3 separate regions of the Homo sapiens genome follow, and regions 1 and 2 are each linked to region 3. Evidence: promoter capture Hi-C in human tissues and cell types (Jung and others, 2019). All regions are on one chromosome and are shown on one strand. Each heading gives the region's core, a stretch centred on a gene start or on the middle of the fragment in contact. The rest is flanking DNA. Distances are from core to core; before and after follow the strand shown.

The links. The method cuts DNA at HindIII sites, captures the fragments that hold promoters and counts their contacts. A contact is called where the count stands out against the background at its distance.
Region 1: a fragment that was not itself captured here is called in contact with the fragment with the promoter of OR5B21 in region 3 in 1 of the 25 tissues and cell types used here (IMR-90 fibroblasts).
Region 2: a fragment that was not itself captured here is called in contact with the fragment with the promoter of OR5B21 in region 3 in 1 of the 25 tissues and cell types used here (thymus).

What each region holds. Positions count from the first base shown.
Region 1 is chr11:58,161,235-58,164,040 of GRCh38, forward strand. All of the region lies in intron 2 of OR9Q1 (olfactory receptor family 9 subfamily Q member 1), which reads left to right. Among named protein-coding and RNA genes, the nearest start is that of OR9Q2, 26 kb to the right of the region's middle. The HindIII fragment of the contact is 7,939 bases long and covers 1-2,806 here.
Region 2 is chr11:58,072,786-58,075,520 of GRCh38, forward strand. All of the region lies in intron 2 of OR9Q1 (olfactory receptor family 9 subfamily Q member 1), which reads left to right. It also overlaps the pseudogene LOC100421793. Among named protein-coding and RNA genes, the nearest start is that of OR6Q1, 43 kb to the left of the region's middle. The HindIII fragment of the contact is 9,121 bases long and covers 1-2,735 here.
Region 3 is chr11:58,506,571-58,509,598 of GRCh38, forward strand. OR5B21 (olfactory receptor family 5 subfamily B member 21) reads right to left here and starts at 1,535. Exons shown (of 1, transcript NM_001005218.3): 1 at 237-1,535. The coding sequence starts at 1,535. The coding sequence ends at 606. The region is part of intron 2 of LOC105369313 (a long non-coding RNA gene); the gene reads right to left. The HindIII fragment of the contact is 9,451 bases long and covers 1-3,028 here.

The DNA of each region.
Region 1 (2,806 bases), core at 293-2,792, 350 kb before region 3:
AGTATAAAAAAAAAAAAAAAAGAAAAGAGTTATATATGTGACTGAACCAAAAACATTTAAACTTGGGAACTGTGGGCTTAAATGTTCTACAAGGCAGAGTAGGTAGAAGGCTCTGATCTTCAGTGACAGAAAGAGACAGAGAGAGAGAGAAGAATGAGGCAATGGCGTAATAGATGGACAGAAAATACTGCCTGAATTCTCACGGGATTTCCAGTGGGAAATCTTCAGCCCAGCTGTAATCGTGGCTTGGCTTCTGGATACACATATCCTTATAATAAATTTCCTTTTGTTTTTGTTTTGCTCAGGCTTATTCTGTTTTTTTTTTTTTAGACAGAGCCTTACTCTGTCACCCAGGCTGGAGTGCAATGGCACTGTCTAGGCTCACTGCAACCTCTGCCTTCTGGGCTTAAGCGATTCTCCTGCATCAGCCTCCCAAGTAGCTAGGAGTACAGGTGCCTGGCTAATTTTTGTATTTTTAGTAGAGATGGGGTTTCGCTCTGTTAGCCAGGCTGGTCTCGAACTCCCGGCCTCAGGTGATCCTCCCACCTGGGTCTCCCAAAGTGCTGGGATTACAGGCGTGAGCCACCGCACCCGGCCCTCTGGTTGATTTTTGTTACTTGAAACTAGAGAGTCCAAACTGTTATATCCAATTAATCAGAACCTCCTTGTTTCTCCAGAAAGCAACAGCAAGCTCAAGGTTCCTCAAAATAGCATTGCTCAGAGCTTTCCTCGCCTCCTTAAAGCATGTATAGAGCTCCACGTAGGTGCTAATTGGCAACTGGATACTGATCACACTGACTTGGTTAAGGTGGCTAAATAGCTTACTCATGCCATTCCTGTGTGGAACCTTTTGATTTATATTTTAGAGAAACAAGAAAACAAAGGAGTTCTTGAAGAAGGTTCCTAACAGTTACACTCACCTTCTTTGTAACTGTGTAACATGCTAACATACCATTATTGTCATTCATTACGAGTAACAAGAAGTCATTATAAGTAAAAATGTCCTAACTTCTCTGAGAAAATCACCTTTCATCTTTTGGAAATGTTACGTTTTGTTTGAATGTATTATCTGTAATCATACATGGAAGGAGACTCGCTCTAATAATGGGTTTTCACAGTGTTGAAACTCAGGCTTTCTAACTTGCAACAGTAGCAAGGTTGTGGTTAATGAATCCATGCTGCTAAAATTGTTTCAGAGCGAGGAATAGGAGGGAGCCTTGTATTGGTGAAGCTGTCTATGCCACGCTATGGTAGTTGGAAGAAAACCTTTCTGGGTCTTTGGAAAAGGTAGGGCACTAAGGGAAGGGTGATTTTATTTTCTGACGCTGTAAAGAGCAGCAAAGGCAGAGGAGTGAGAACAATGTTCACTACAGTACCAGCTGGTAATACTAAGAAGGTTATTTAATACCTTCTTTCTGAAAAAATGTGACATAAGAAAAATGAAATAATAATTCATATATTTTGAGTGCTTCCTATATGCCAGGTGAGAGACTAATGACATCTCTGTAAAGTTGGTGGGTGTCAGGTGAGTGACCTTGGGTAACCTTCATCCCTCCTACCCCATGTCTTTGTTACTGTTTCAGCAGAATGGGGAGAATCACATATTCTCGGATCTTCGCAGAGCTCTTCTGAGGACAAAATGGAAGGGACATTGTTCTGAAAGGTCAAAGGTATCCTGTAAATATAAGAGCTTAGCAAGTTTTCTTTCTTTGTCTCTTTCTCTAGTAAGAAAGATGGGGTGGAAAGAAAGTGAGAGAGAAGCTTTGTTTGGAATTTACAGAGGGGTGAATCAGATAGGCAATAAATACAATAAGTACATCATATGTTATGTTAGAAGGTGACAATTCCTATGGTGAAAATGAAGCCAGGGTCAGAAGAATAGGGAATGTGCAATTTTAAGTATCTTGCTCAAATTTTAATTTTAAGGTTCAGCTCAAATGCCACTTCCTTGGAAATCATCTCCCCTGAATTTTATCCTGGTATGGGAATGATTGATTACATATATGGCTTACCTCTAACAGTAAAGTATAAAATTTTTGAAGGCAGGAAATATGTGTGTGTATCTGTGTGTGTATAAATTTCAGCCCTGGTCTCTAGACCACCTTTCTTAATCAAAAATGAGAAATGATTGAATGTGCAGATGGTCCCCACCTGTCCCCTTCCTGGCTCCACCTTTGTCAAAGGAGTTTCCTCCTGACCTTGCTCTCTTCCTTTTTCTTGTCTGGACATTTTGAGACTCATAAAAAATGCATGTGCAGATGCTAAGAATAATTACCACAATTTCTCAGCTGCAGAGAGCTGGTAAAGGTCATGCCAACTTGCTGTCTGTGCCAGTTGCTTCTCTGGGCAGTGCACTTGTCCTAGTTATTTTTCCCTAAGGTTTTCTTTGTGTTAAAGATTAAAGGACAAACTTGATGAAGTGCCTGATTCCAGGGAGGGCAAACTAGAGGCTACAATGGGCCTTGCCTTTTCCTAGGTGGATCAGTTTCCATTCTACCTATTCTAGGTAAATAGCTGGGCAGGGGGCCGTTCTCCCAGGACACAGCTGGCGAGGGTGGCAGAGCCTGTGATTCATGACATTATTCTGACTGAGGAAACTGGACCTTGGAAGATAAATGATTCCTCATGGGACAAGTCAGAACTAGAATTCAGGCTCCCTTAACCATTCTTAGCGATGGCCCAACTGGGTGTACAGCTTTTAGAAATGGAGATTGAAGAGAAACCTTCTCTTTTCCTACATGAAAGGGGCTATTTGCATATAAATAATCCCAATATCAGCAGTAATCTCTCCTTGGAGACCCACACT
Region 2 (2,735 bases), core at 48-2,547, 430 kb before region 3:
CCTTCTGTGAACCTATTCTTCTTGCAGATGCTTTAATACCATATGGAGGATCAGTGATTACTGCATTAAAATATGTGCCATTCTCCAGGAAAGTTTAGATGTATCTGAAACCAGGACATTTAATATGGTCAATCATATTTGTCAAAATGTATTAGAGAAAGTATTACCTTCTCTAAACCATACTGACAAAGATTTGCCCTAATGTTTTCATCTGGTCCTCTCCATTTCTGGTTTTTCTTACCTGCCTTTCCTGAGCCATAAACTGTGTTGTAGTTGATGCCTGTCTCATATACATATGCATCGAAATGAGCAGATGCTATCAGGAGGCCTCCTGTTCCAGCAAATGGATCAAAATCAGTATCATTTTCTCTTTTCCATAATTAGTCACAATGAATGACAAACCGGCATCCATGCTTGTATTTCCAATAAAGTGTCTCATTTTGACAGTGTATGACTCAATAAGCTCTCTCTGTCCATCTGTGATCTATCTACTAAAATAAATATTATGCGAATTCTTAGGGATGCAGTTTGGGTCCAAACCATAATTCTCCAAAATATAGAATATATGTTGTGGCATCTTTAAATTTACAGAATTTAAATGGCAGAAATCCAACTGCTTTATTCATTTGACTTTTTCTTCTTATGTCAATGTTTTATTACATGTGTGAATCTTTATTTTATACACAGAGTATGAATATACAAATAGAACTTAGCACACACTGTACGTTTCGTTACATTTCTTGCAATACCTTCAGAAAGAATGCTAAGAATCCAAAATGGCGACTTTCTGTAAGTTTCCTGTCTGCAGGTGAACTGACCTCCAAAAAATGATAGCGAAGACTTTGTTTTTATTTTATTTTTTATTATACTTTAAGTTCTGGGATACATGTGCAGAACATGCAGGTTTGTTACATAGGTGTACATGTGCCATGGTGGTTTGCTGCACCCACCAACCTGTCATCTAGATTTTAAGCCCCTCATATATTAGGTATTTCTCCTAATGCTATCCCTCCCCTTGCCCCCCATGCCCTTACAGGCCCTGGTGTGTGATGTTTCCCTCCCTGTGTCCATGTGTTCTCATTGTTCAACACCTACTTATGAGTGAGAACATGCAGTGTTTGGTTTTCTATTCCTGTGTTAGTTTGCTGAGAATGATGTCTTCCAGCTTCATCCATGTCCTCGCAAAGGACATGAACTCATTCTTTTTTATGGCTGCATAGTAGTCCATGGTGTATATGTGCCACATTTTCTTTATCTAGTCTATCATTGATGGGCATTTGGGTTTGCTATTGTAAATTGTGTTGCAATAGTCTTTGCTATTATAAATAGTGCTGCAATAAACATATGTGTGCATGTGTCTTTAAAGTAGAATGATTTATCATCCTTTGGGTATATACACAGTAATGGGATTGTTGAGTCAAATGGTATTTCTAGTTCTAGATCCTTGAGGAATCACCACACTCTCCACTTCCTCTCCAGTATCTGTTGTTTCCTGACTTTTTAATGATTACCATTCTAATTGGTATGAGATGGTATCTCATTGTGGTTTTGATTTGCATTTCTCTAATGACCAGTGATGATGAGCTTGTTTTCATATGTTTGTTGGCCACATAAATATCTTCTTTTGAGAAGTGTGTTCATATCCTTTGCCCACTTTTTGATGGAGTTGTTTTTTTTTCTTGTAAATTTGTTTAAGTTCCTTGTAGATTCTGGATATTAGACTTTTGTCGGATGGATAGATTGCAACAATTTTCTCCCATTCTGTAGTTTGCCTTTTCACTCTGATGATATTTTCCTTTGCTGTGCAGAAGTTCTTTAGTTTAATTAGGTCCCATTTATCAATTTTGGCTTTTGTTACAATTGCTTTCGGTGTTTTAGTTATGAAGTCTTTGCCCATGCCTATGTCCTGAGTGGTATTGCCTAGGTTTTCTTCTAGGATTTTTTATGGTTTTAGGTTTTGCATTGAAGTCTTTAATCCATCTTAGTTAATTTTTGTATAAGGTGTAAGGAAGGGGTCCAGTTTCAGTTTTCTGCATATGGTTAACCAGTTTTCCCAACACTATTTATTTAATGGGGAATCCTTTCTCCATTTCTTGTTTTTGTCAGGTTTGTCAAAGATCAGATGGTTTTAGATGTGTGGTGTTATTTCTGAGGCCTCTGTTCTGTTCCTTTGGTCTGTATATCTGTTTTGGTACCAGTACCATGCTGTTTTGGTTACTGTAGCCTTGTAGTATAGTTTGAAGTCAGGTAGCATGATGCCTCTGGCTTTGTTCTTTTTGCTTAAGATTGTCTTGGCTCTACGGGATATTTTTTGCTTCCATATGAAATTTAAAGTAGTTTTTTTCTAATTCTGTGAAGAAAGTCAATGGTAGCTTGATGGGAGTAGCAATGATTCTATAAATTACCTTGGGCAGTATGGCCATTTTCATGATATTGATTCTTCCTATCCAGGAGCATAGAATGTTTTTCCATTTGTTTGTGTCCTCTGTCATTTCCTTGAGCAGTGGTTTTTAGTTCTCCTTGAAGAGGTCCTTCATGTCCCTTGTAAGTTGTATTCCTAGGGATTTTATTCTCTAGCGAAGACTTTATTAAAGCAGACAGAACTTCAGGAGCTGCCATGAGCAGCAGACACCTGTTTAGGGTGCACGGCAGCTGTGCCCCCCAAATCCATACATTGAAACCTGATCACCAACGTGATGGTGTTAGGAGGTGGAAATTTTGGGAGGTGCTTAGGT
Region 3 (3,028 bases), core at 285-2,784:
GGAATGGAAATTACAAAGGCACATGACTAGTGAGTAGGATAGGAATGTGGGTAGAGAAGGGAGAGTAAGGGGTTGGAAAGATTTAATCGTCAGCTACCTGACTCGATCTAGTGCCTTGTCCTTTAAATTACAACTTTCTCTCAAATATCATTTAAAATATTGAAACATCCTTTGTCTACCTCAGAAAGTCCAACTTTCAAACTCGCAGAACAAAAGAATAAAAAAGATACTGTGTGTTCAGTTGATAAAAATGAAGGTGAAATCTTTACACCAAGTTTAATAGTGAATGAAAAATTCTTACAATTAAAAACAGGATGAGGAAAATTTGGTACATTCATTTGTATGCTTCAATCTTCTGCTTTAAACCACGTCAAGAAACTAAAGCAAGAAAAGCTTAACTGTCCCATGTTGTTGTTCACTAAATATAAGATTATCTTTCTAAGTAAGACTTTCAACGTGCTGCTTTTTACATCTTCTAATAGCAGAAGTAACCGCTGTTCTTGGGGAAGAAAGAACTGAAACCAGTCAAACGTTAAAAGTCATGATGGCATTTAGGTGTGAGAGAAAGTTTATCCCTTAATTGCTTGCCTACTTCCCATTCACATTTAATATTGGGGGTAAAGTTTGTTGAGTATTTTCCAGAGAGCACTTTTCACTTCTTTGTTCCTAAGGCTGTATATCAAGGGATTCAGCATGGGAATCACCACTGTGTAAAACACAGAGGCTATTTTGTCTGTGTCCACGGACTGGCTGGAGTTGGGCTGTAAGTACATGAAGATGATTGTGCCATAGAAGATGGACAAAGCAGTGAGATGGGAAGCACAGGTGGAGAAGACTTTCTTCTGCCCTTCAGCAGAATGCATCCTCTGAATGGTGATGCATATGAAGAAGTAAGAAATAAGGATGACCAGGAGGGTGAAAAAGACGTTGAAGCCTGCCACAAAGACCACCAACTTGCTGATGCGTGTGTCAGAGCATGAGAGAGCCAGGAGTGGGGGAATGTCACAGAAGAAATGATTAATCTCATTAGAACCACAGAAGGAGAGTCTGAAGGTGCCTGCTGCATGGATAGAGGCATTGAGGAAGCCAGAGACATAGGAACCAGTAGCAAGGAGGGCACACACACCTGCTGTCATGGTGGTGGTGTAATGAAGAGGCCTACATACCGCTGCATGGCGATCATAGGCCATGGAGGCCAGGAGGTAGCACTCAACAGTGGCAAACCCCACAAAGAAGAAGAACTGAGCTGCACATCCATCGTAGGAGATGGCCTTGTCCCCTGACCGCAATGCAGCCACCGTTTTGGGGGCTACAGCTGATGAGTAACCCAAGTCTACAAGGGAGAGGTTACTGAGGAAAAAGTACATTGGAGTGTGGAGATGGGAGTCTGAGTGGATGATCACCATCATTCCCCCATTCCCAAGCAGGGTGATGAGGTAGATGAATAAAAATGCCAGGAGGAGGGGTATCTGAAGATTGGGGTCATCTGTTAATCCCAAGAGGATAAACTCTGTCACTTCTGTGCTATTCTCCATTGTGGCCAGCTTGAATTAGCCTGGTGATTAAAGAAGAGGCGTCAACAAAATTCCAATGAAAGTATGAGAAGGGAGGATGGAATGATAAAAAAGGAGAAAACTAATGTATAGAGAGAATGTACTGTGTGTAACACTCATCCTAGAACCCTCTGTTATATTATAGCTTTTAATTCATATGAGATAGGTGCTATTATGCCCATCTTACAGATAAGGAAGTTAAGGCTCAGGGAGCTGAATATTGAGCAAGATAGCCTATCTAGGGGTCAGAATCAAAGTTCACCCCTTTATATTTCTGAATCTAAAGTTCATACATTCATCTTGAATTCTTTAACACATTTACATCATATAAATACAAATTATGATGTGGATATAAGATTGTATGTATTTAATTATTAAAAATAAAAACATCCATCACTTATTGTCTTCCACATTCTACTTCCAATAATATAGCCTCACTAAAGATTTTCTAAATTTATTTTTCCTTAAAACAACACAAGTTTATTCTCTCAAAATTCTGGAGGCCAGAAGCCTCAAATCAGTTTCACTGGGCCAAAATCAAGGTGTTGGCAGGACAAGGTGGTGCCCTCAAGGTCTGTTTGATACTAAATCCAAAGATCTTAACCACAACTTTTGAAGCCTTTATAAATTAATCCCTCAACAGTAGTTCAACTGAAAGGGAGTATGGTATATGTAAATATGAGTATGTATTTATATATATTTAATATAAAACTATAAATTTGATATATACAAATGGCTTTGTGTATCTGTGTATATGCATATGTCTTTTTTCACCCCTTATCAGAAGTCTTTGCTGTAGACCCTAATTCCAGTTAAGTCCTCCTTTCTCTCCCTCCTCAAAGCACTTGAGTCTTGGCTGATTATTGCACAATTAGCTGGGCAACCACTCACTCTTCACCTAGCTCTAAGCCCCTTGGGACAGTAACTATCTTCATCCCCTCTGGTCCACTCTCCTTACCATGGCCCCTCACACATGTATGTAAATATTTGGTGAATCAAACAGAACATCAATAGGAAAGTATGGAAATATTTTTCATGCTCTTTAATCCCACAACAAACATCCTATCATCCTCTTGTCTACCAGGTTTGTGCTTTGGGCCAAAATATTAGCTTAGACTTGTCATATGAAAAATATTCAGGAGTAACAGTGAGTTTGCAGATGGTCAGGCCTGGAGACAGGTTTCTGTCCTCATTTTAGAGCATTCTTTCTCTCCTATTTTTGTTCCTCAACCTGAGGTGTTCACAGGCTTTCCCCACTCCTAGTAGCAGAGTGAGTGGGAGCAGACTCAGAAGAAGTGAGGGAGAAAATGTGAGAAGAGAGGAGGAAAAAGGAGAAAACAGGAATTAAAGGAGAAAAATGCTTCAGCTCTGCTGGACTTTAGCTTACCTTGAAGAGTAACAGCAGCAATTTGATTGGTGACACAAAAAGAAGGGGATAGTGTAGCTTGTCCTTTTTGGATGACCATCACACACAC